4 separate regions of the Homo sapiens genome follow, and regions 2, 3 and 4 are each linked to region 1. Evidence: promoter capture Hi-C in 16 types of primary human blood cells and fetal thymus (Javierre and others, 2016). All regions are on one chromosome and are shown on one strand. The core of a region is centred on a gene start or on the middle of the fragment in contact, and the rest is flanking DNA. Distances in the headings are between cores, read along the strand shown. Region 1 holds the start of CDH1 (cadherin 1). Region 2 overlaps SMPD3 (sphingomyelin phosphodiesterase 3). Region 3 holds the start of DERPC (DERPC proline and glycine rich nuclear protein). Region 4 has its middle 5.8 kb from the start of HAS3.

Region 1 (5,965 bases), core at 258-2,757:
GACTACAGGCGCCCACCACCACGCCTGGCTAATTTTTTGTATTTTTAGTAGAGACGGGGTTTCACTGCGTTAGCCAGGATGGTCTCAATCTCCTGACCTCGTGATCTGCCCGCCTCGGCCTCCCAAAGTGCTGGGATTACAGGCGTGAGCCACCATGCCTGGCCCTATTGTTACTATTTTTACCCCTCACTTCTGTACAGAGCATTTATGGCTCAAGAAACATTTGTCATTTTAATTGTATGGGAGTCCCACAACAGCATAGGGAGACATTTCTGATCATTATTCCCATTAGGAGGGTGGAGAAACTGAGGCTTTGGGAGGTGGTCCTGACCTAGGGAATCAATTTGCTGACTCACTAACCCATGAAGCTCTACAGTTAAAAAAGACTAGATTAAAAAATGAGAACTCAGTAAAGGGGCTGAGGCAGGAGGATCGCCTGAGTTCAGAAATTTGAGATCAGCCTCGGCAACATAGTGAGATCCCCTCTCTAGAAAAATTTTTTAAAAAATTAGGCCGCTCGAGGCAGAGTGCAGTGGCTCACGCCTGTAATCCAACACTTCAGGAGGCTGAAGAGGGTGGATCACCTGAGGTCAGGAGTTCCAGACCAGCCTGGCCAACATGGTGAAACCCCGTCTGTACTAAAAATACAAAATTAGCCGGTGTGGTGGCACACGCCTGTAGTCCCAGCTACTCAATAGGCTGAGACAGGAGAGTCTCTTGAACCCGGCAGGCGGAGGTTGCAGTGAGCCGAGATCGTGCCACTGCACTCCAGCCTGGGCAAGACAGAGCGAGACTCCGTCTCAAAAAATACAAACAAAACAAACAAACAAAAAATTAGGCTGCTAGCTCAGTGGCTCATGGCTCACACCTGAAATCCTAGCACTTTGGGAGGCCAAGGCAGGAGGATCGCTTCAGCCCAGGAGTTCGAGACCAGGCTGGGCAATACAGGGAGACACAGCGCCCCCACTGCCCCTGTCCGCCCCGACTTGTCTCTCTACAAAAAGGCAAAAGAAAAAAAAATTAGCCTGGCGTGGTGGTGTGCACCTGTACTCCCAGCTACTAGAGAGGCTGGGGCCAGAGGACCGCTTGAGCCCAGGAGTTCGAGGCTGCAGTGAGCTGTGATCGCACCACTGCACTCCAGCTTGGGTGAAAGAGTGAGACCCCATCTCCAAAACGAACAAACAAAAAATCCCAAAAAACAAAAGAACTCAGCCAAGTGTAAAAGCCCTTTCTGATCCCAGGTCTTAGTGAGCCACCGGCGGGGCTGGGATTCGAACCCAGTGGAATCAGAACCGTGCAGGTCCCATAACCCACCTAGACCCTAGCAACTCCAGGCTAGAGGGTCACCGCGTCTATGCGAGGCCGGGTGGGCGGGCCGTCAGCTCCGCCCTGGGGAGGGGTCCGCGCTGCTGATTGGCTGTGGCCGGCAGGTGAACCCTCAGCCAATCAGCGGTACGGGGGGCGGTGCCTCCGGGGCTCACCTGGCTGCAGCCACGCACCCCCTCTCAGTGGCGTCGGAACTGCAAAGCACCTGTGAGCTTGCGGAAGTCAGTTCAGACTCCAGCCCGCTCCAGCCCGGCCCGACCCGACCGCACCCGGCGCCTGCCCTCGCTCGGCGTCCCCGGCCAGCCATGGGCCCTTGGAGCCGCAGCCTCTCGGCGCTGCTGCTGCTGCTGCAGGTACCCCGGATCCCCTGACTTGCGAGGGACGCATTCGGGCCGCAAGCTCCGCGCCCCAGCCCTGCGCCCCTTCCTCTCCCGTCGTCACCGCTTCCCTTCTTCCAAGAAAGTTCGGGTCCTGAGGAGCGGAGCGGCCTGGAAGCCTCGCGCGCTCCGGACCCCCCAGTGATGGGAGTGGGGGGTGGGTGGTGAGGGGCGAGCGCGGCTTTCCTGCCCCCTCCAGCGCAGACCGAGGCGGGGGCGTCTGGCCGCGGAGTCCGCGGGGTGGGCTCGCGCGGGCGGTGGGGGCGTGAAGCGGGGTGTAGGGGGTGGGGTGTGGAGAAGGGGTGCCCTGGTGCAAGTCGAGGGGGAGCCAGGAGTCGTGGGGACGATCTTCGAGGGAAGGAGAGGGGCATCCGTAGAAATAAAGGCACCTGCCATGCCAAGAAAGGTCGTAAATAGGAGTGAGGGTCCCGGGGATAAGAAAGTGAGGTCGGAGGAGGTGGGAGCGCCCCTCGCTCTGAGGAGTGGTGCATTCCCGGTCTAAGGAAAGTGGGGTACTGGAGAATAAAGACATCTCCAATAAAATGAGAAAGGAGACTGAAAGGGAACGGTGGGCTAGGTCTTGAGGGGGTGACTCGGCGGCCCCCTCCCGGGAGTTCCTGGGGGCTCGGCGGCCGTAGGTTTCGGGGTGGGGGAGGGTGACGTCGCTGCCCGCCCGTCCCGGGGCTGCGGGCTGGGGTCCTCCCCCAATCCCGACGCCGGGAGCGAGGGAGGGGCGGCGCTGTTGGTTTCGGTGAGCAGGAGGGAACCCTCCGAGTCACCCGGTTCCATCTACCTTTCCCCCACCCCAGGTCTCCTCTTGGCTCTGCCAGGAGCCGGAGCCCTGCCACCCTGGCTTTGACGCCGAGAGCTACACGTTCACGGTGCCCCGGCGCCACCTGGAGAGAGGCCGCGTCCTGGGCAGAGGTGAGGGCGCGCTGCCGGTGTCCCTGGGCGGAGTAGGGAGGGGTTGGAAAGGGGCCGAGAAATTGCACTCCCACACCCCTGGGTTGCAATGGGCAAGCTCCCTCCTTGGCTCAAACGACACCCCTTGGAATTTACGCAGATTTGGGGATCCAAACGTTTACGACTGAACACTGTGGTGGAGGGGGTAACCCTGCCTGGTTGTTGACTATGTTATAAAGAAGAGGAGGTTGAGGGCACTTACTAGAAGCCTTCGTATTTCTCTTATTGCCCTCAGCACTGTAGAGACAGTCTCTCATTTCAGACTGCAAAAACCTGGTGGGTGGGAAGGCCTGGCAGGAGTATTCCCGTTTTACAGTTGAGCAAACCGAGGCTAAGAGAGTGACGTCCACTTGCTCAGGGTCAGCAGAGCAGATATCTGAACTGGGATCTGACTCCCAGGCCCCATTAAGCACCATCTCTGGGATGACTGAAGAGCAGCCCTCTCTTGGTTACTGGGCTGTGGCTTTTGTTTACAGATATAAAAGCTTTTTTTTTTTTTTTTTTTTTTTTTTTTAAAGACAGGGTCTTGCTCTGTTGCCCAAGCTGGAGTGCAGTGGCACAATCATAGCTTACTGCAGCCTCCATCCTCTGGGCTCAAGTGATCCTTCCCATCTCAGCCTCCCTAGTAGCTGGTTATCATGGGCATGTGCCACCACACCTGGATAATTTTAACTTTTTTTTAGGCTGGGCGCAGTGGCTAACGCCTGTAATCCCAGCACTTTGGGAGGCCGAGGTGGGCGGATCACAAGGTCAGGAGTTCGAGACCAGCCTGGCCAACATGGTGAAACCCCATCTCTACTAAATAAAAATATAAAAATTAGCCGGGCATGGTGGCGTGTGCCTGTAATCCTAGCTACTCAGGAGGCTGAGGCAGGAGAATTGCTTAAACCCAGGAGGCAGAGGTTGCAGTGAGCTGAGATAGTGCCACCGCACTCCAACCTGGGTGACAGAGCAAGACTCCGTCTCAAAAAATAAATAAAAAATAAATTTTTTTTTAGAGACAGGAGTCTCTCCATGTTGCCCATGCTGGTGTTGAACTCTTGGGCTCAAAGGATCCTTCTGTCTCAGCCTCTCAAAGTGCTGGGATTGCAGGCCTGAGAGACTGTGCCTGGACCAAAACATCTTGATACAGGTACTGTTTCCCCCAAGGAATAATGATTTTTTTTTTTTTTTTTTTTTTTGAGATGGAGTTTTACTCTTGTTGCCCAGGCTGGAGTGTAATGGCGTGATCTCGGCTCACTGCCACCTCTGGCTCCCAGGTTCAAGTGATTCTCCTGCCTCAGCCTCCTGAGTAGCTGGGATTACAGGTGCCACCACCATGCCCAGCTAATTTTTTGTAGTTTTAGCAGAGAAGGGGTTTCACCATGTTGGCCAGGCTGGTCTGGATCTCCTGACCTCAGGTGACCCACCTGCCTCAATCTCCCAAAGTGCTGGGATTACAGGCATGAGCCAGCACGCCTGGCCAGGAATAATGATCTTTTTTTAAAAAAAGCATGGTAGTTCTGACTCAGGATGAAAATGCATACACCCAATGTACTTCTAGGCCTTATCGTTGTGACAATCTAGAGTTTGCTTTGTTCCACTTGACTGTTGTCCAGGGAGCAAGGGAAGGGGCTAGTTTCTCTTCTGGTTTCACTGAATCCCAAGTGCTTCCTTTATATCAAACCACTTTCTCCTCTCTCATGATTTTACTTGATTGGGTATCACAATAAGAGGCATTTTTTTTTTAAGAGAAATCACCCACAATTCCCCTGAGGGAACACCTCCACTGTGTCATTCTTCCAGTCTTTGACCACATGAATCTTTAGCAATCACGCTGTTGTCTTTACATTTTTTTTTTGAACTTTGGAAGTCATTCGAAGTTTTTTACAGAGAAACTACAGCTCGACTGATGAAGTATATTTGCTCTGTGTGCTCTAGAGCTTTCTATTGGATCAGAAGTTATCTCTAACTCCTGGGCTCAAGTGATTCACCCGCCTTGGCCTCCCAGAGTGCTGGGGATTGGATATTTTGATGTCAGTGGGCATTGAGGAGTGGCTTCTCGGGGAAGGCAAACTTGATCCAGTCTTGGAGAGCAAGGCAGGGGCTAGAAACAAGCTTGTATCTGAGCATGCGTCTGGGGTGTCCCAGTGCTAAGGCTGGTGACTTTGTTTTCCTGCACCAAGATATTTGGTAGCACCAAGGGTGGGTTGGTCTGGTTTTTATTTCTCCCTTCTAAGCTCCTGTGTTTGACCAATAATATTATTACATATTAACACTAATATGTTAATAATTAATAGTGACACGTATTCACTTTTGCCTCAGACTCTGGGGCAAGTGCTTCACATATTTTACCTCATTTAGTCTTCACTAGAACGTTAGGAGGGTGGGCACTGTTATTCTTCCTACTTTGCAAGTGAGGAAACTGAGGCATAAAGCAATTCTGTAATCTGAAGCATCCGCAGTTGGTCTTTTCTCTTCCTTTTTCTCCTTGTTTTTCACCTCAATAACCTGAAAAAACAAAAACAAAGAAAAAAGGTGTTTGGGGAATTAGTGTCCAATGTGAAGTAAGCTGAGAATGGAGGTGTTGACAGGGTGGGACCTCCGAGAGGGGGTGGTGATGATGGAGATGGGTCAGACCCGGGGGAGGTGGCGGGGGACCCTGGGACTGGTGATTTAGTGGGAAGAGGCAGCCTTCACACAGAATCCGCAGGCCTCTGGTGTGGTTGGTTTCAGTTCCCTTTATGTTCACAGACCCCCACCCCCACACAACAGATTTCCTGACATTTAATATTTGTTTTGGCTTTTTTGGACTGTGGGGTCTCCTTGTATCAGTCCAATGTGGAGTCGCCCCAGGATGGAAGTGCCCTTCTGGTAAAATCACACGTTCAATCTGAGGAACTGGCTTGTGATTTTAAAAGGCCGCTAGGACTTGGGATGTGGCCTGACTCTCTTTGGACAGTGCACGGAAGTGAAGGGATGGATGTAACATTGGCACCAGGTTTAGACATTGGCTTCATGGAGAATTTACTCCATGGGAATTTTGAAACTTGAAACCTGTCACTTTTTGTGCACAGGCAGCTGTAGGGTCTTAACTCAGGGGACTTTGGAGTGTTTGCTAGGGTCATTCCTCTGCCCCATGCTGTGGCTGACCCCATGATCTCAACCTTGTATTTATTCCATTGGTTTATCTCCAGCTTCTAGAATGAAGACCTTTACAAAAAAAAAAAAAACCAAACTCAACTGTAATAAACCAGTTTTTGTTTTGAGACGGAGTTTTGCTCTTGCCGCCCAGCCTGGAGTGCAGAGGTGCGATCTCG
Region 2 (5,701 bases), core at 1,384-3,883, 310 kb before region 1:
TTTCATATCCATTTCATTTGAACTTCGCAATCCTATAAGGAAAAAGGTACAATTGTTATTGTCCCACTTTGCAGATGAGGAAATTGAGGTTCAGAGAAGTTGAGGGACTTGTCCAAAGACACTCAGCCTGGTACGGAGCCTATATGATCTTCCAGTTGGCTCCCTCTGGCTAGGCTAATAGCCTGGTTACCCAGGCTTAAAAGGGATGCTTCACCATTACCTGACAGTCCTCCCATTATCCCTGCCCAGCAGGGAGGGGCGTTTTATTGCCTCAACTTAATGCATGGGAGATAAGGGCCAGGTGAGTTAAGTGGCTCCTAGGCAGGCCTGCCTCCTCCAGCTAAGCTGCTTTTGAACCAGCTGATCAGGACTACTCTTCAAAATCGCAATTTAACTGCTGGGCTGCATCCATTGTTCTGTGTGTGGAGGCAGCTGCCCCATAGGCCACCTCACTTGGTGCTGTCACAGTGATTAATAAGGATATTCTGTGTTCACATGAGGCCTCTCAGTCAAGGCCTCAGAGCACTTTGTAAGCATTAATTAAGCTTCATGATGGTGACTCAGGTAGGTGGGGGCCCTGAACCCACTTCAACATGTCTTCAGCTAATGCAGAGAGAGACCAAATCGCTCCCTCAGCAAGCTATGGCCTTCAGCTCATCCAGGTCCTAGTGGGCATTCTCCATCCCTGGGGTTTGGCCAAAATCATTTGTGGAGAAAAGACTTCCCCTCTTGTCCTTCCAGACTTCAGAACAATAACCAGCACCCAGAAGCCACTCCCATTTGAGTCAGGACCAGGCCAACAGCTCTGATGGGCTGGGTTCTACCTGATGCTCATTCACTGGCCCACCTGGGTTCACAGCCAGAGACCACCAGCATGTCGGCACCAACTGCCTCTGTACACAGGGGCCCCTGGAGTCAGGCCCGTCCCTGCAACACCATCTGCACAGTATCCCCATCCTCCCTCATCTGCTTCACCCCCATTCCCAGCTCTGCCCTCGCACATCTGCCACCTGCTTTCTGTGGCTCTGTCTGGCGCTTGTGGGGAATGGCAGAGACTGTGTAACTCAAGGTAAAGAGCTTGAACCTCCACCCAAGGATGAGGGGGAGCCACAAAAGGGAGAGACGTGGTTATATGTGTGCTTTGGAATGACAGCACAGGAAGATAGGTATGTGGGGTGGGGGATGAAGAGACCAGAGGCAATGGAGCCAAAGCCAGCATGGCAATGAGCCAGGGGGACAGACTTATGACCAACCTGGCAGTGTTTGTGCAAACCACTCCCCCAGTACACCTGAAGAAGCCATGTCCAGTAAAACAATTAAGTCCAAGCCCCACTCCCTCACTCTACCACCTCCCAGACACATCTCTTTGACTTGGCTAGGGAATGAGGCCTGATACTCATAGCTCGGCCTCCATTCCTAGCCATTGACATTCCAGGGCACCATTGAGTTCGACCCATTAAAGAGTCTAGGGGTGGGCATTGTTTTTCTTCCCTACTTGCTTGATGAAACCAAGGCTTAGGGGTCCAGTGGCCTGCCTATTAGACTTGGTAGTAGCCCCTGAAAGATGTCCATATCCTAATCTCCAGAACTGGTGAATATGCTACTCTATGTGGCAAAAGGAACTTTGCAGATGTGATTAAGTCAAGCATCTTGAGATGGGGAGAGAAGCCTGGATTATCCAGATAGGCCCAACGTAACGACAAGGATCCTTTTGAGAGGGAAGCAAGACCGCTGAAGGTGGAAGAAGAGGATGACAAGGAAGCAGAGGCTGAAGCTTTGAAAATGGAGGAAGGAGCAAGGAGCCAAGGAATATAGGCAGGCTCTAGAAGTTAGAAGGAAACAGATTCTCCCCTAGAGCTTCCCGAAGGAACACCAGCCTGCTGATGCTTTGATTTTAGCTCAGTGAAATTGATTTTGGGTTTCTGACCTCCAAAACTGTAAGATAACATATTCCTCAGCATCACCAAACTACAGCAGAAATCCTCAGAAGGAGGTGGAATTTATCCTAGGTGAGGAAATATTGTGATTCTGCAGAGGCCCTCATGGAATCTGAATTAACCTCTTCCCTTGCCCAGAACTGGGAAAGCCATGGATGTTGGGCCTGGTTCTCATTTTGCTGTGATCTGGGCAGGTGCTTGGACAAGATAGACGTATAAGGCCCCTGAGCAAGAAGCTGGAAGAATGTGCAGGAAACAGAGTATAGTAAAGTGCTCAGAGGGAGGAAAAGAAGGTTTTGCTGTTGTTGAAATAAAAAACAGTACAGGCCCAGCTGCTTGGAGGCCTCCAGTCAGGTGAGAACTGGTGGTGAAGAATTCCACCTCCCACTGAGGGGTTGTTTAGTTTGATGATGCTGAGGGTTTGGAGAAAAGGGGAGGGAATTTTCTCCTTAGCCACAGATCTGAGATGACTGCAAATTGCTTCCCATGCAGTCTCCTTATTTTAACCTCCAGGGAATAGTGGGCGAGTTTCTGCCTCCCCTGGGTGTACCTGCTGCAGAGAAAGAGGTGGCGTGTAGGCTGCTGGGAGATTCTGGGCTGGGCTGCACTGGTTCCTTCGTTAAAGTGAGGAGGTTAATGTGAGGATCTCTGAGGTCCTTTTCAGCTAGAATATTGGAGTCTCCTTGAAAAGCACCAGTTTCCTTAACCATTGAACACATATACAGCCCCAGCCTGATTTAGAGGATTTTAGTTGTAATGGTAAACCTTTCCACAGTTCTCAGCGGGGGCTTCACAGTCATTTTCAAAGTTATTAGCTCAGTGATCTTCACAACAACCTAAGAGACAGGCACTGGTATTACCTTATTTTACAGCTGAGGAAACTAAGGCTCAAAGAGGTGAAGTAATTGGTTCAAGTTAGCATCAGAGTCAGGATTTTGACCAAGGTTTTCTGGCCTCCTTGTCACCTCCTTTATGGCACAAAAGGGATCTCAAAGATCATTCCCTTCTTGTGACCTTGCTCTGAGTAGCTGAAGATGCTTCCTGGGATTCCTCAGAGAGTTACTTACTAGCTGCTATGGTTTGAATGTGTCCCCCAAATTTCTTGTGTTAGAAACCTAATCTCCAAATTCATATATTGATGGCATTTGGAGGTGAGGCCTATGGGTGGTAATTAGGATTAGTTAAGGTAGTTAGGGTGGGGATCCATGATGGGGCTGGCGGCTTTATAAGAGGAAGAGAGATCTGAGCTGGCATACTCTCTATCTCTCTCCATCTTCTACCATATTATGACACAGAAAGAAGACCCTCATCAGATGCGACCCCCTTGATCTTGGACTTCCCAGCCTCCAGAACTGTAAGAAATACATTTCTTGTCTTTCTAAATTACCCAGTCTCAGGTGTCCTGTTACAGCAATAGAAAATGAACTAAGACACCAGCAAACTGGGTTGAGTCTTTTTCTTCCTACTGGTCTTGTTCCTGAACCCCAGATCTCTGCTTCAGGCTTAGCCAAGGAGCTTAGGACCACCTCATTTTTTACCCACCAGCAGGTACTTCCTAAGCTTGGCACTATTCCAGACCCCGTGGGGCACTCTGAGCATGAAAGAACAGACTGGCACAAGTGAAACAAGTTATGGAGGCTGATGTGGGTGGTTCTGGACCCCAGCAGTGGCTGAGGAGGCGGTGATGTCACCCAGCAGAGCAGTGCTGGGGAGATGGAAGGTCTGGAGGCCTCAGTGGCGGTGAACAGTCCACAGTGAGGGTGGACATGGCCCAAGGTGACCAAGGGCTCGGCCTGGGGACGTCACCTGCCCAGTCAGGCCCTCCCTGCACAAAGCCCAAGGAGTTAGCCAATGGCCAGGGCAGTCTTAGCCAGGGGGCCTAGGTGGTCCTAGGGTGCCAGAGGGTCCTAGGCCCCCTGGCTAAGCCTGCCCTGGTCACTGGCTGTGGGAACAACAGTTTCTCCTGAATCCTCTCTTTGGCCAGGAGTACTGCCATGTCCTTACTCCTGTGTATACATGGCAGGATGTAATTATCCTAAAGATACCATCTTGAAGCTTTGAATCCTGAACTCCCAGCCCCAGCATTAAGTCTGCCTTCTGCCTTCTTCACTTGCCCCTCCACAATGGGGCTGCAGGGGCCGTAGGGGGAATAAGCATCAGCAGAGACCCTTGTGACTCCTGGGCACTGCCTGCAGAGCTTTGGTCCTGTGTGCAAGGGCCTGTGGATCATGGTCGAACAGTCAGACCCTCAAGTCATGTTGGGCCTGACTCCACAGTGACCTGGGAAAAGTAATTTTACTTATGAACCCCAATTCTCACATCTGTAAAATGGAGGTAATCATAGTAGCTGCATCATACAACAGCTGAGGGGATGAAATGGGAGAATCCACACAGAATGGTTCAGCGCCACGCCAGGCATCAGCAAAGTTACTGTCTTGATGACTCTATTCTCTTGCAAAGTTACTGTCTTCATGACTCTATTATAAACCAGAAGAATGTTTTCTCTTTTTTTTGAGATGGGGTCTCACTCTGTGACCCAGGCTGGAGTGCAGTGGCATGATCTCAGTTCACTGCAACCTCCGCCTCCTGGGCTCAAGTGATCCTCCCACCTTAGCTTCCTGAGTAGCTGGGATTACAGGTGCACATCACCATGCCTGGCTAATTTTTTGTATTTTTGGTAGAGACAGGGTTTCACCAAGTTGCTCAGGCTGGTCTTGAACTCCTGGTCTCAAGTGATCTGCCCACCTTGGCCTCCCAAAATGCTGCGATTGCTGGTATAAGCCACTGCGCCTGGCTATATTATAAACCAGAAGAATGTTCTTAAGAAAACAGTCCCTAATAAAAGATGCAGAAACCTCCTCCCAGGAAGATGTGGAAGAGAGGCCTGGGCCTCAGCTGATGGGATGGTGCCTGTGGGTTGGTAGTCATGGCACTCACTCCCACTTATCAGATAGTAGGGCTTACAAGGGCCAGAATTAGAACCTCTGGCTTTAGACCTTTGGTTGTCAATTCTCTGTATATGGGAAATCAAAACAGAACTTCATGGATGTCTCTGGAGGTGCACCGAAGTCAAGGCTGGAACTGGTGAGGGAGAATCTTTCCTATTCAAAAGAAATAGACTGCTTGGGATGGGTGAAGGCAGGGGCAAGAGCCCTGCATGCCAAGAGGGTCTCCTCCAGCTGGATGGTTCCAAGGTTTCACATGAATAATCAGTAGGAGGGAGCGAAGGGGCCCAGCTTCCTCATCTCTTGGAGAGGGTCTTTGGCTTTTGCAGAGTGACAGCCACAGGAGGCAAACTCCACTGGATGCCATGAGGACAATGGGTGGGGGGGCGGGCCCTAAGGAGCCAGAGTCAGAAGAAGGATGGGCAGAAACCAAGGAGGCTGTGATGACAGGGGCAGGGAGGTGGCAGCGCCATGGGACACATCAATGCTGACCCTAAGCTCTTCAGATTGCTGTTAGCACTGTGAGGCAATAAGGATGGGTGAATCTGCAGGCTGGGAGGGTGGTGGGATACTCAGCAAGATATCCGGCCTCGGGCCAGCCCAGGCTGGGGCTGGGTGGTGGGGATCTGGAGAACAAGCACTCCCTGCTGAAAGAGAGGGAGAGGTGTGCCACCCAGAAGGAACAACACCTGGGTTTGTCAGCCCTCCTCCCTTGCACTATGCCGCGAGGAAGTCAATCACATGTGTGTCTCTGAGGTGACAATGTACCCCCAGCACAGAGGATTCCATGTGGAGGATGCTAAGGGAGCACTGAGAGTG
Region 3 (5,996 bases), core at 1-2,500, 390 kb after region 1:
AACAGACAAACTGAAACAAAACAAAAAAAAAACTGGCAAATCAAAGCACCACCATGATTTCTTAAGAAAAGCCCAGGCAGAGGCCGGGTGCGGTGGCTCACACCTGTAATCCCAGCACTTTGGGAGGCCGAGGCGGGCAGATCACGAGGTCAGGAGATCGAGATCATCCTGGATAACACAGTGAAACCCCCTCTCCAGTAAAAATACAAAAAATTAGCCGGGCGTGGTGGCAGGTGCCTGTAGTCCTAGCTACTCAGGAGGCTGAGGCAGGAGAATGGCGTGAACCCAGGAGGCAGAGGTTGCAGTGAGCCGACATCACGCCACTGCACTCCAGCCTAGGCAACAGAGCGAGACTCCGTCACAAAAAAAAAAAAAAAAAAAAAGGAAGAAAAGTAAAGTCCAGGCAGAACATTATTTTTATAATACAAAAGGCTTCATTTCTCACAAGCTAGCCTCGTTCACTTATCTGTATCCTCTTATTTCACCCTGACACCCTATGCTTTTAGCAAGGTCTTCTCACTCCCATTTCACAAATGAGGAAACAGGCTTAGAGGAGCTAAATGTTAACTGGTCACACAGCTACTTAAGTGGAGAGCTGGGATATGAACCCTAACCCCTCCACAATCTGGCCCCTCTTGCAGTTCTCCTCACACAGCCCCCTCCTGTAAAGCACCTCTGTATGATAACTTCCCTTGCTTTACAAATATTAGCCTCGTTCTCACAGCATCTCTTACAAAATGGCAAAGTAACCTATGGAAAGACCTTGTAACTTGCCACCAAAGTATTATATCTGTGGGGTAGGCAGCTAAAAACAAAGAAGCAGCTTGCTTTTTATCATACCCAATTGAGATGTTTCAGTTTTTGAAACTTTTAGAAAAATCTACTCAATGCCACCTCTAGGACGCAAAGCTTTACCCTCTGCTCCTGAATGTGAAAGTCAAGAGAATAGAGGACATTCTTTGTCAAGTATTCATTTTAATCTTCCACAGAATTTAATTCTTACCCTCTGGTCTCTGAATTGTTAAATATTAAATTGTTAAAAGATTACTGTCTTACAGAGAACAGAACAGCCTGAGCAATGATCCTCATAATCCTTCAAAATAAAATGTGGCAGAAGAAAGTGTGATATGTATCCAATTAAACCGAACATATGGCTTATAGCAAAAAAGAGGCTTTGACTCAACGGTTTAACCTCAATACAAATAACTAAATTTTAATAAAGCTAAACAACGTTTTAGAAATTTTGTTTTTTTTTCAAACAGGAAACCAAGCCTTTAAATTCTCAACCCTTAAACATTCTTTTCTAAACTGGGGTGAAATCAATTATTTCAGAGTGTAAATATTCACAATTTTCTATTTTTTGCTAGGCCAACAGTTGGCATTTATTGAGCTTTTGTTTTTTGATCCCAGGGTGGATACTTTGTTTACGAATATAGTGAAGCACTCACTTGTCATACAGACCTGGATTCTGTGATTTTGCCACCTATCCCATATGTGACAGTGGGTAGTTTAACCTCACGTGTTTTCCTAACAATACACTGGGCATAAACACCTATTTTGAAAGGCTGTTGCAAGAACGAGTAATGAATGTAAAGCTTTTAGCACATTGTCTGACACATGGTAAGCCTTCAGGGTCAAGCTATCGATTTCCCAGAGAAAGGTGGCATTTTCTTAGTATTCATCAAATAGAATGTCTTAATACTACACTGTGTTAGCATATTAATGTTTATAACGGACTAAAGCATTCTACGAAAGCAGCAGGTCATCAGAATAAAATCAAGTTTTCATAACAGTAGAATTCAAACATGGCAGTTGTGGTTCACCAAACTGCTTCAGGGATTAAGTTCTGGAAGGTAATTTCTCTAAATATGATGACTATGTCTCTATGTGCCTTTCTACCAAGTGAACAACTCAGAACGTTTTACATACAACCGAATACAGATTATTTTTATTTGTAGTGTTATCGTGGTTTTGTAACTGAAGGGGACAGGTCTATACTTTTGAAGGGGATCTTGTCTCTTGAAAGGCTTATGTTACTAAGTCTAAAATCCTGTTTCCAAATGAGAATCTTGCTCCCCTCCAAAAAGGGGCTTATGGAGGGTTGGTGGAATTGAATGCTTCCAAACTTTACATTAGTGAAGTGTGTTCAAAAACGTGTGTGGATGCTATGCATACACGTGATACTTCCCATCACATTTTAGGATTCCCACGTTGGAGGGAATCAATTACTGGTATTTGTAGCAATGGGTGGAAAAGATGGCTTCAGTCGATCTGAGTTACTGCAGTTTTCTCCATCTTCTGCTACTCTGCAGCCCCATCTTAGCCTGTCCTCCTCTTAATGGTACGGCCCCCTGTACTCCCCCAAACCCTTTCCTTTCTAGCCCGGCGTAGAGTCTCCCTCTGTGCTCTTCCTCCCACCCACCCCCATCTTCTCCACCCACTCCCTCTCGGCCCCCTCCCACCCTTTCTGCTAGAGCTACAAACACTTCCTATTTCTAGTCCCACCCACTTTCTGGGACTTCTCAATCCGCTTCCCCCCTCTTCTCCACCCCCCTCCAAATTACAAGCTGTTTTAACCCCTTTTCCTGCCTCCCAGGGAAACTATTCTTTAAACCGCCTTCCTCCACACCACCCACTGGAGTGGTCTTCCAAACCGTTCACCCTCTTCCCAAAGATTACTCTTTAAACGTCCTTTCTCTACCACCCTCGTTCTCCAAATTGTTCCCGGTTCTCAAGTACTCCACTCCTCCAGGACCCCACCCCACTCGTCTCTCGGCTTCCCTCCCACAAAAGAACCTGGAATGACTCTCCAACCACCCTTCCAATTACCTCTCCCAGAAGCCTCCCCCCTCCACGATTACAAATGTTACCTGGAACAAAACCTCACGGTCCTAACCCCCACCCCGAACTCCCCTTTCTGCTCTTCCCGCTACTTCCTAGGTTCCAGTTCTACTCCGCTCCCGCAAGCATAGCGGGCTGGGCTCCCTCCCAACCCCGGGAAGAGCCCCTTCCCGCACGTACCTCGAGATTCCGGCCCTCGCCGCCCCCTTCTCCGTCCTCCGCCCGCGCTCGGCCACCCTTTCCGCCCTTCTCCCGCTCCGCCCCGCTCGCTCCCTTCCTTCCCTCCGCCTTCCGTCTCCACACCGCTCCCTTCCCCCACACTCCTGGCCCTCCCACCCCGGAGGCCCCTCCGGGCTTGCCCCCACCTCCGCGCCGCCCTCCCGCCGCCCTCCCCCTTCCCGGCCACCCCTCCCCCGCCCGCGCTCCCCGCCCCTCGGCTCGCCATTCTTCTCTCCGAGCCGCGCGCCCCGCCCGGCCCCGGCTCCCTAGCTTCCCGCTCCCTCGCGCCCTCGCCCCCAATCCCGGCTCGGCCCTCGCTCCCCGCAGCCTCCCGTGCCCCCCGCCCGCGGCCTGACCTGCAATGGCGGCCGCCGAGCGCGGCGCCGCGCGGCCAACGGGCGACAACCGAACCTCCCGCCGCCGTCGCCGCCGCCGCGAGCACTGCCTGCGCACTTCCGACTATGCGCCAGGAGCACTTCCGGGGCAGAGCCTGAGAGCGCGCGCGCACGTGGGGCCGGGGCGGAGAGAGGCGAGCACCGGGAAGGGGAGCGTGGGGCCGCTGGTGAGTTGGGGAAGGGGCGTGGGAAGCGGCTGCGAGAGCTGGGGGGGTCTTACAAGGTGGCCGGCCCAGGGTCGGCGTCCGGCTGAGCTCCTTGTCCCGAGGGTCTCCTTGTCCCGAGGCGGGGTGGGGGCTACTCTGTAGACTCGGGGAGAGGGAAGGGGAGGCGAAGACCGCGCGCGCCTCAGACGCCCCGGCCCGACCGAACGCGCTTGCTCTGTCTGCGGGTTCCTAACCTTGAAGCTAGGCCAGTGAGGGGCGAACAAGACCTGGTCTCTACTCTCGGCCAGTATATATGTTGGCGGGCGTCGGGGGGACGGGGTAGGGTAAGTGACAGACGTCAGACCAGGCAGCCAGATTAAGTCAAACCCTGTCGTTTCTTCCTCAAGAGGAGCTCGGTTCTGCCTGCCCCATCAGCCTCACTGTCACTACCTCAGTTTAGGTCTGTTGTTTGCAAACTTAGCAATAGAGTTGAGGAGAGATGCTTGCTAAAATGCGGATTCCTAGGCGCCCCGAGATAGGAACTCTGGAGCTATGGAGTAGGACCCTTTTTGATTTTTTGCTGAAGCCTCCTTATTATTCAAGCCATTCTGAGCTTTTGAAGATTGAGTAATTCTTGTGGGGGGCATTGTTAGCAGCCATTTGGAAATGAACTTCAGGGAGATGTTGTTGGAGCCTTCCAGCCAGAACAGTGATATTAAGGAACTGAATACTATATGTGACATACTGCAGTTAACATATAGCAATAATGACTCTCTTTTCGCCCCCTAGGAATGGGTGAATTTAAGGTCCATCGAGTACGTTTCTTTAATTATGTTCCATCAGGAATCCGCTGTGTGGCTTACAATAACCAGTCAAACAGATTGGCTGTTTCACGAACAGATGGCACTGTGGAAATTTATAACTTGTCAGCAAACTACTTTCAGGAGAAAGTAAGTCATTTGGGAGTCTGATATGGTGTTTTGATGTTAATTTCTTCTGAAGTTCAAGAAGCTTGTATGTCTTTTATAATCAAACTGATTGAGTGACTTCCTAGCCCCTCTGAAGTTGCTTAGAACTACCAAACTTCTGAGATCTCCTAACTGATAAGAGAAGCTCAGTTTCAATCTGTGTAATGTTGATTAGAAGGGTCCTACCTAGAAATGTGACATCTCACTGCCTGTCATTGGAAACTGAGGTTTGCTGGATCTTTTGGACACAGGAAGGGAAATTGTTGGTATATCAGTCTCAACACCATTGCAGCTTTGGTAAGCAAAATTTCCTGCAGGGAGTATCAGTACTGTTTCATTGTCAATTCAGAAAAAATGATAACACGTTTTAATATCAGAAACTTTTTGGTGATGTGGGAAGATGGATTCCAAAGTTCATCTGTCTGAGAGAATGTAGACCTACATGTCTACATTTGGGAGTAAAGGAGATTTAAAATTAGGTAAAATGTCCTTTGGGTGTATGCAGAGGTCTATTAGTCCTTTTTCTTCTCCCCTCCAAGGGCACTGACTAGTGATTTTCTTCGGGTGCAACATCTTAGTTCATGTTGAATGACTGTTATGTACTGGGTGCTGTGATATAAATGAGTAGATGGGCAAATGAGTGAATTCAGTGCCCAGCAGCCTGGTACCTGGAATTTAGGCATTCTGTAAATGTTTCTCGGTGAATGAGTGGCAAATACTGGGCACTAAGACAAATGTCAGAGGCCCTAACTTTACGGAGCTCAAAGACCAGTGGGAGAAAGATAAGTGTACAGTTTCCAACCTGTAAAATAAATATGATAAACCGAAACACAGGCATAGAACCTTCATTGAATTGCCTTCAGGGAAGGCAATTCAGAGAATTGCCTTCCCTGAGAGGTGGGTTTAGGAAATGTGGAAAGGGATGATTTACTGAGCTCACCCCTGAAGAACTAATCAAAAGGTAAAAACTACAGGACCACCACAAATGGGTTACATTCTGTGGTATGAAGAACATGCGCTGGCGTGTGCTTATTGCATCCTGTGATTTTCTTTTTTTTTCTTTTTCTTTTTTTTTTTTTTTTTGGAGACGGAGTCTTGCTCTGTCACCCAGGCTGGAGTGCAGTGGCGTGATCTTGGCTCACTGCAACCTCTGCCTCCCTCTCCTGCCTCAGCCTTCCAAGTCGCTGGGATTACAGGTGTGCCACCATGCCTCGCTAATTTTTTTATTTTCATAGAGACGAGGTTTCACCATGTTGGCCAGCCTGGTCTCGAACTCCTGACCTCAAGTGATCTGCCCACCTCAGCCTCCCAAAGTGCTGGGATTACAGGTGTGAGCCCTCATACCAGACTGATTATCTTTTTCTTGGTCTTGTTCTTCTTCTTTTTTTTTTTTTTTAACAGTCATGGCCATATTATGATTTTTCTGT
Region 4 (6,460 bases), core at 1,242-3,741, 360 kb after region 1:
CAGGTTAGAGTGCAGTGGCGCCATCTCGGCTCACTCCAACCTCCGCCTCCCGGGTTCAAGTGATTATCCTGCCTCAGCCTCCCGAGTAACTGAGACTACAGGCAAGCACCACCACGCCCAGCTGATTTTTTGTATTTTTAGTAGAGATGGGGTTTTATCATGTTAGCCAGGATGGGCTCAATCTCCTGACCTCGTGATCCGCCCACCTCAGCCTCCCAAAGTGCTGGGATTACAGGTGTGAGCCACTGCGCCCAGCCTAATCTGAGGTGGGAAGATCGCTTGATCCCAGGAGTTCGAGACCAGCCTGGGAAACATGGTGAAACCCCATCTCTACAAAAAAATACAAAAAGTAGCCGGGCATGGTGGCACGTGGTCCCAGCTATTTAGGAGGCTAAGGTGGGAGGATCCCTTGAGCCCGAGAAGTTGAGGCTGCAGTGAGCCGTGATTGCACCACTGCACTCCAGCCTGGGCAACAGAGCAAGACTGAGAAAAAAAAAAGAATTATGGTTGATTTTATTGTAACAAGAGCCAAACAAGCCGGGTGTGGTGGCTCATGCCTGTAATCCTAGCACTTTGGGAGGCCGAGGCAGGTGGATCACAAGGTCAGGAGTTCAAGACCATCCTGGCCAAGATGGTGAAACCCCGTCTCTACTAAAAATACAAAAGTTAGCCAGGGATGGTGGCAGGCTGAGGCAGAGAATTGCTTGAACCCAGGAGGGAGAGGTTGCAGCGAGCCAAGATCAGGCCATCGCACTCCAGCCTGGGTGACAGAGCGAGACTCTTTCTCCAAAAAAAAAAAAAGAGCCAAACAAATTCGGAACAAGCTTACCTTAAGTGTAGACAGGGATTGTGTTCCACCACTCTGGGAAGGAGTGTGCACTTGTGTGTCCATTTTGTGTCACGTAACTACATGTGTGTGGTGCAGACACTTGCGTGGGAGTAGGCTTACAATGCGCACAGGAGAGAACCTCTCCCTGGGACTTCCCTGGGTGGGAGGACATTGCTGCTGACATCACCAGGCTTGGAAATCCTTTCTTCAGGGAAAAGCCTCCTTCTAGGGGAATCCTAGAGCCGTATTTAGCATGTGCCTCCCCCTCTTGCCCAGGACCACTGTGGTCCTCAATGAGGAGGTGAGTGTGGACTGCCCCAGCTGGGGTGTGCCAGCCAAGCCATGTGCCTTTTTATAATTCCCTCAAAGGTGCCCAAAGAGCTGGCATAGCTCTGCAGACTCCGCCTTTCCCTGCTACATTCTCTCAAAGGAACAGTGGGAGGAATTTACATAAAGGAAATCACTCTGGTTTTGGCTACCACTAATCCTAAATCCTGGCCCTCCCACTTTATTTACTGCTTTCACTGTAAACTGAGGTTGTGAAACCTTTTTCACATGAATCCATGTATGATAGAGACTGCACCCCACCCTGCCCGGGCTTATAAGGAAATCCTGCCAGGCGCGGTGGCTCATGCCTGTAATCCCAGCACTTTGGGAGGCCGAGGCGGGAGGATCACGAGGTCAGGAGATCGAGACCACAGTGAAACCCCGTCTCTACTAAAAATACAAAAAATTAGCTGGGCATGGTGGCAGGCACCTGTAGTCCAAGCTACTCAGGAGGCTGAGGCAGGAGAATGGCGTGAACCCGGGAGGCAGAGTTTGCAGTGAGCCGAAATGGCGCCACTGCACTCCAGCCTGGGTGACAGAGCAAGACTCCGTGTCAAAAAAAAAAAAGGAAATCCTGTGAACTCAGAATTTATCTTCATTTTTTTTTTTACAACATGGGGTCTCTCTGTGTTGTCCAGGCTGGTCTCAAACTCCTGGACTCAGGCAATCCTCCCACTTCAGCCTCCTGAGTAGCTGGGACGACATGCACATGGCACTGTGCCTGGCCTTAAAATACCTTTTTATTACAAAATTGTTTTACTTATTAATAGAAATTTCAGAGAAAAAAAATCCATTGTTCTACCACTTGATTTTAATATCAAACCTATTAATATATTATCAAACCTGATTTTTTTTTTTTTTTTTTTTTTTTTTTAGTTTCACTCTTGTTGCCCAGACTGGAGTGCAGTGGCACAATCTCGGCTCACCACAACCTCCGCCTCCCAGGTTCAAGCGATTCTCCTGCCTCAGCCTCCCAAGTAGCTGGGATTACAGGCATGCACCACCATGCCCAGCTAATTTTTTATTTTTAGTAGAGACAGGGTTTCTCCATGTTGGTCAGGCTGGTCTCGAACTTACGACCTCAGGTGATCTGCCTGCCTCTGCCTCCCAAAGTGGGATTACAGGTGTGAGCCACTGCGCCCAGCCTGAACCTGATCTTTTTTTTTTCTTTTTAAGACAGAGTCTCGCCCTGTCGCCCAGGCTGGAGTGCAGTGGCGCGATCTCGGCTCACTGCAAGCTCCGCCTCCCGGCTTCACGCCATTCTCCTGCCTCAGCCTCCTGAGTAGCTGGGAATACAGGCTAATAAAAAATTAGCCCAGCTAATTTTTTGTATTTTTAGTAGAGACGGGGTTTCACCGTGTTAGCCAGGATGGTCTCGATCTCCTGACCTTGTGATCTACCCGCCTCGGCCTCCCAAAGTGCTGGGATTACAGGCGTGAGCCACCGCGCCCGGCCAAACCTGATCTTAATGATCAAACCTGACCTTGATATTTGGGTGAACTTCTCACCTGCCTTTAATTCATTTTTTTTTTAGATGGTGTCTTGCTCTGTCGCCAGGTTGGAGTGCAGTGGCGCAATCTCGGCTCACTGCAACCTCTGCCTCCCGGGTTCAAGCGATTCTACTGCCTCAGCCTCCCGAGTAGCTGGGACTACAGGTGCACACCACCATGCCCAGCTAATTTTTGTATTTTTAGTAGAGGTGGGGTTTCACCATGTTGACCCGGATGATCTCGATCTCCTGACCTCATGATCCACCCACCTCAGCCTCCCAAAGTGCTGGCATTACAGGCGTGAGCCACCGCGCCCAGCCTAATTCATACGATTTTAAAGAAAACAACAACATAAATGCAGGTATGCATACATAACGATTGTGTCTCCTGTTCGTTACTTAACACTGCATCGTAGGTGTCTGGAGTATTCCTCCATTGTCCTCATGAACGTGTTTTTTTAGTAGCTGCACAATATTCCACTAAAAAGATAAGTGTTGAAAATTGCCTTCTGGGTTTTTTTTTTTTTCTACACTCACCTAGGGGAGGGAGAGAAAAGAAAGATGGCTGGGAAGAGCTTTTTCTGTTTAGGATTCTGAGAAAAGCATCTCCAGGTCTGATTTGATATTCGGTTATCGGTCTAGTGTGCCCCTCCTAATCCTGACCTTCAAGCCAGCATAAAAGAACCTGGCCCCTTAGCAGGGGCTGACCGCTTTGCCTCCAGCAGAGCAGAGGCCCCTTAATTTGAAATGAAACGATTCTTCCATCAAAGGAGAGGGAGACTGGAGTTAAAATCGAACCATTCTAACGGCAGCACAGGAAAGTCCTTAAGCCTGCTTCTTCAAACATAGCACCTGGAAATGGTCCTGATTACACAGTGCTTGTCAGTAAGAGGGGAAAGTTATGAAAGAATAACTTTGTTTGGTGGTAGCTGCCTTGCTGTAGTCAAGGCACACACTTTCCACTTTGAATTATGTATTAACTAGCATTGCAGCTGAAGCCGCCTTGAAGAGAAAGCCCTGTTTGGGCAGCTGCGGGAACATAACCTGCTACTATTCGGGAGCCATTTTCAGTTCGCCCTCCTTAGCTTCAAGAGGTTTTCATGGTGGTCAGCCCAGGGAAAGTGGATGGGGATGAAACTTGGAGGGTTGGAGGCAGCCTGGGTAGCTTGGCTGCCATCCTCCATTCTGTTTTGCTTTGCTGGAAGTGATGGGCTGGATGCCAGGGAGGAGCAGTGAAGCGTTAAGGGCAGAGGGTGAGGGGGCAGCCTATAGAGCTTGGATGCCCCTCCTCCCGCCTCCCCTGCTCAAGCCACTCACTAGGAGACAGCGGAGCAGAACCGTGGGACGATGGAGCACCTGGGTCCTGGCAAGGTTGCTCTGCAGCTTCCGGCACTGGTGATGACAGAGAGGTTACGGGTGCAGGATATTTGAGCATTTCGTGAGTTTGGATTTGGAATTTCATTGAAAGGTGAAATCTTTGTGGAACTGTCAGCTTCAGTTACCTCCAACCTGCTAAAGCTTTGAGAAAGGCCCCTTGAACTCTCTGCACCGTCGAGTACTTTTCTCTTGGTTATGCCTCCAGTGTTGGAGGATTATTCCTGGCGTGCAAGGCACTCATTTAGGATTATTCCTTGTCACTGCCTGTGCTCACCTCCACCTCCAGAAGGCAGCACCCACACTTCTCATCGTGGCTTCTCCTCAGCCTTTTATTGTTGCATCTGCCTCCTAACAGATCTCCCATACCCCATTCCTAGTCCTTACCCCAAAATGCTGCCAGCCCAACCTTCCCCAAACAGTACTTGCAATCTACTCCTATCTTGCTCAGACATGTTCGGTAATTCCCCATAACCTACTGGATACAATTCAAACTCCTTATTTGGTCACTCCAAGTCCTCCACTCCGGTCCTAGCATCCTCCTCCTCACAGCAGCTAGAGGGTAACAGGCACTTCCTACACAGCAGGCCCGGCTGGAACAGGCCCTGCTGGAAGCTCCTTTATTTTTATTTTTTATTTTGAGGCAAAGTCTTACTCTGTCACCCAGGCTGGAGTGCAGTGGTATGATCTCGGCTCACTGCAACCTCCGCCTCCCGGGTTCAAGGGATTCTCGTGCCTTAGCCTCTTGAGTAGCTGGGATTACAGGCATGTGCCACCACGCTTGGCTAATTTTTGTGTTTCTAGTAGAGACGGGTTTCACCATGTTGGTCAGGCTGGTGGAACTTTAGTGTAGATTTCTTCTTCCACCCTGGCCTCTCTTGGCTGTCCTCTAAACACATGTCCCCCATTCCTACACCTGGTCTTGTACTTAAGCTATCCTTCCTACCTAAAATGTTCTTCCCTTTCTACATAGCAGCTCAGGTTCCCCATGAAACTGCCCAGCCTGTTCCAGCTCACAGAGACCTTTCCTGAAATCCTCAAACTCCTCATGTTGGATTCTCTCATCAATATTTAATTATAAACTGCCTTGTACAGTTTATACTTGTACTCTTTTTTTTTTTTATGAGACGGGGTCTCGCCCTGTCGCCCAGGCTCGAGTGCAGTGGCACGATCTCGGCTCACTGCAACCTCCGCCTCCCGGGTTCAAACGATTCTCCTGCTTCAGCCTCCCAAGTAGCTGGGATTACAGGCGCAAGCTGCCACACCTGGCTAATTTTTTGTATCTTTAGCGGAGACAGGGTTTCACCATGTTGGCCAGGCTGGTCTTAAACTCCTGACCTCGTGATCCACCTGCCTCGGCCTCCCAAAGGGTTGGAATTACAGGCATGAGCCACTGTGCCCGGCCTATACTTGTACTCTCAAGCACATTTGTCTTCAAAATGGGTAACGTTCTAGATGGCAGGGACCAGCCCGAGATCTCCAGGTGCCAAAGCAGTGTTCTCTACTCAGAGCAGGGCTTCAGCGTTTGTTAAATGAGTGTTGTAAGTGCAGCGTGAATCTTCTACTACTGAGCCAAATAGGAAGGCTTATTTATCCTCTGGAACCTGTGGAAAAGCCAATTCAGCAACATCTGAATTCATGTTTTTAAGTGATTGGGTGTGGAATTAGCCCTATTTCTAAATCCCCAGTGGTAAGCAGAGATAAACTCGAGCTTGATTGTAGCAGCCCCTTAAAGAAACCCCTCCCCACCTCCCCGTGAAGGGATGAATGCAAATAGGACACCACAAACTGGATGCTAATTACAGGCAAATCCTCCCTGGCATAGACTGCCATAAAGGTAAAGACTCTCTTATCTGCCTGATAACACCAGGTCCCTGGCCCTGCAGATCAGAAAAAAAGAGAGTGCTCCCTAGGGCAGGCCATTTAGGGGGCAAAGCCAATTAATTGGTACAGGCAGGGTGTTTGTTGTCCTCATGAGGTTCTATCTGGACCCACTGTTGGTTAAGGAGGTTTTCATGGACTCGTGAGGTTGTGCTGAACCAGCCCCACCACCTGGAAAACTCCGTGGAGCTGGCGGCGTGAGAAGGGCAATAAGCCTTGGGACACAGTTGGAGTCTAAGAAACTAACTAGGCATGAGATGGTCCTGGCCCAGCCCCAGGGAGACAAACTTGCACCCAGAGAAGTCATGTTGCTGCTGAGTGAGGACGGAAGGGATCCTTCCAAACTGGCTTCTCCATTCCTTGGGCTTCTAAACAGGTCACTTACAAGCAGCCAGTTGGCTGGATATGACTCAGACACATTATGTCTGGCCTGTGGAGTGTGCATGTGTGTGTGTGTGTGTGTGTGTGTGTGTGTGTGTGTGTTTCCTTCAACATTTGAATTACCAATGCTTAAAAAAATTAGGAGATTTCACATACAAAATCTGGATTTCTGGCTTCTC

What was found. The method cuts DNA at HindIII sites, captures the fragments that hold promoters and counts their contacts. A CHiCAGO score of 5 or more calls a contact.
Region 2: a fragment that was not itself captured here is called in contact with the fragment with the promoter of CDH1 in region 1 in 1 of 17 cell types (endothelial precursors); the score reaches 5.2 in endothelial precursors.
Region 3: a contact is called between a fragment that was not itself captured here and the fragment with the promoter of CDH1 in region 1, in 1 of 17 cell types (erythroblasts). The highest score is 5.3, in erythroblasts.
Region 4: a fragment that was not itself captured here is called in contact with the fragment with the promoter of CDH1 in region 1 in 1 of 17 cell types (megakaryocytes); the score reaches 5.1 in megakaryocytes.

The regions. Positions count from the first base shown.
Region 1 is chr16:68,735,785-68,741,749 of GRCh38, forward strand. CDH1 (cadherin 1) reads left to right here and starts at 1,508. Exons shown (of 16, transcript NM_004360.5): 1 at 1,508-1,679; 2 at 2,513-2,627. The coding sequence starts at 1,632. RefSeq lists an enhancer at 529-673, a cis regulatory region at 601 and a silencer at 1,554-1,623. The HindIII fragment of the contact is 3,737 bases long and covers 1-3,149 here.
Region 2 is chr16:68,420,279-68,425,979 of GRCh38, forward strand. All of the region lies in intron 1 of SMPD3 (sphingomyelin phosphodiesterase 3), which reads right to left. Among named protein-coding and RNA genes, the nearest start is that of SMPD3, 25 kb to the right of the region's middle. The HindIII fragment of the contact is 1,723 bases long and covers 1,773-3,495 here.
Region 3 is chr16:69,129,068-69,135,063 of GRCh38, forward strand. DERPC (DERPC proline and glycine rich nuclear protein) reads right to left here and starts at 3,521. Exons shown (of 3, transcript NM_001002847.4): 1 at 3,417-3,521. CHTF8 (chromosome transmission fidelity factor 8) reads right to left here and starts at 3,521. Exons shown (of 4, transcript NM_001039690.5): 1 at 3,417-3,521. It overlaps UTP4 (UTP4 small subunit processome component), which reads left to right and starts at 3,582. Exons shown (of 17, transcript NM_032830.3): 1 at 3,582-3,622; 2 at 4,391-4,551. The coding sequence starts at 4,393. RefSeq lists silencers at 3,101-3,250, 3,271-3,630. The HindIII fragment of the contact is 686 bases long and covers 908-1,593 here.
Region 4 is chr16:69,096,660-69,103,119 of GRCh38, forward strand. It overlaps a transcript of HAS3 not described here. Among named protein-coding and RNA genes, the nearest start is that of HAS3, 5.8 kb to the right of the region's middle. RefSeq lists enhancers at 1,153-1,978, 3,403-3,904. The HindIII fragment of the contact is 3,339 bases long and covers 823-4,161 here.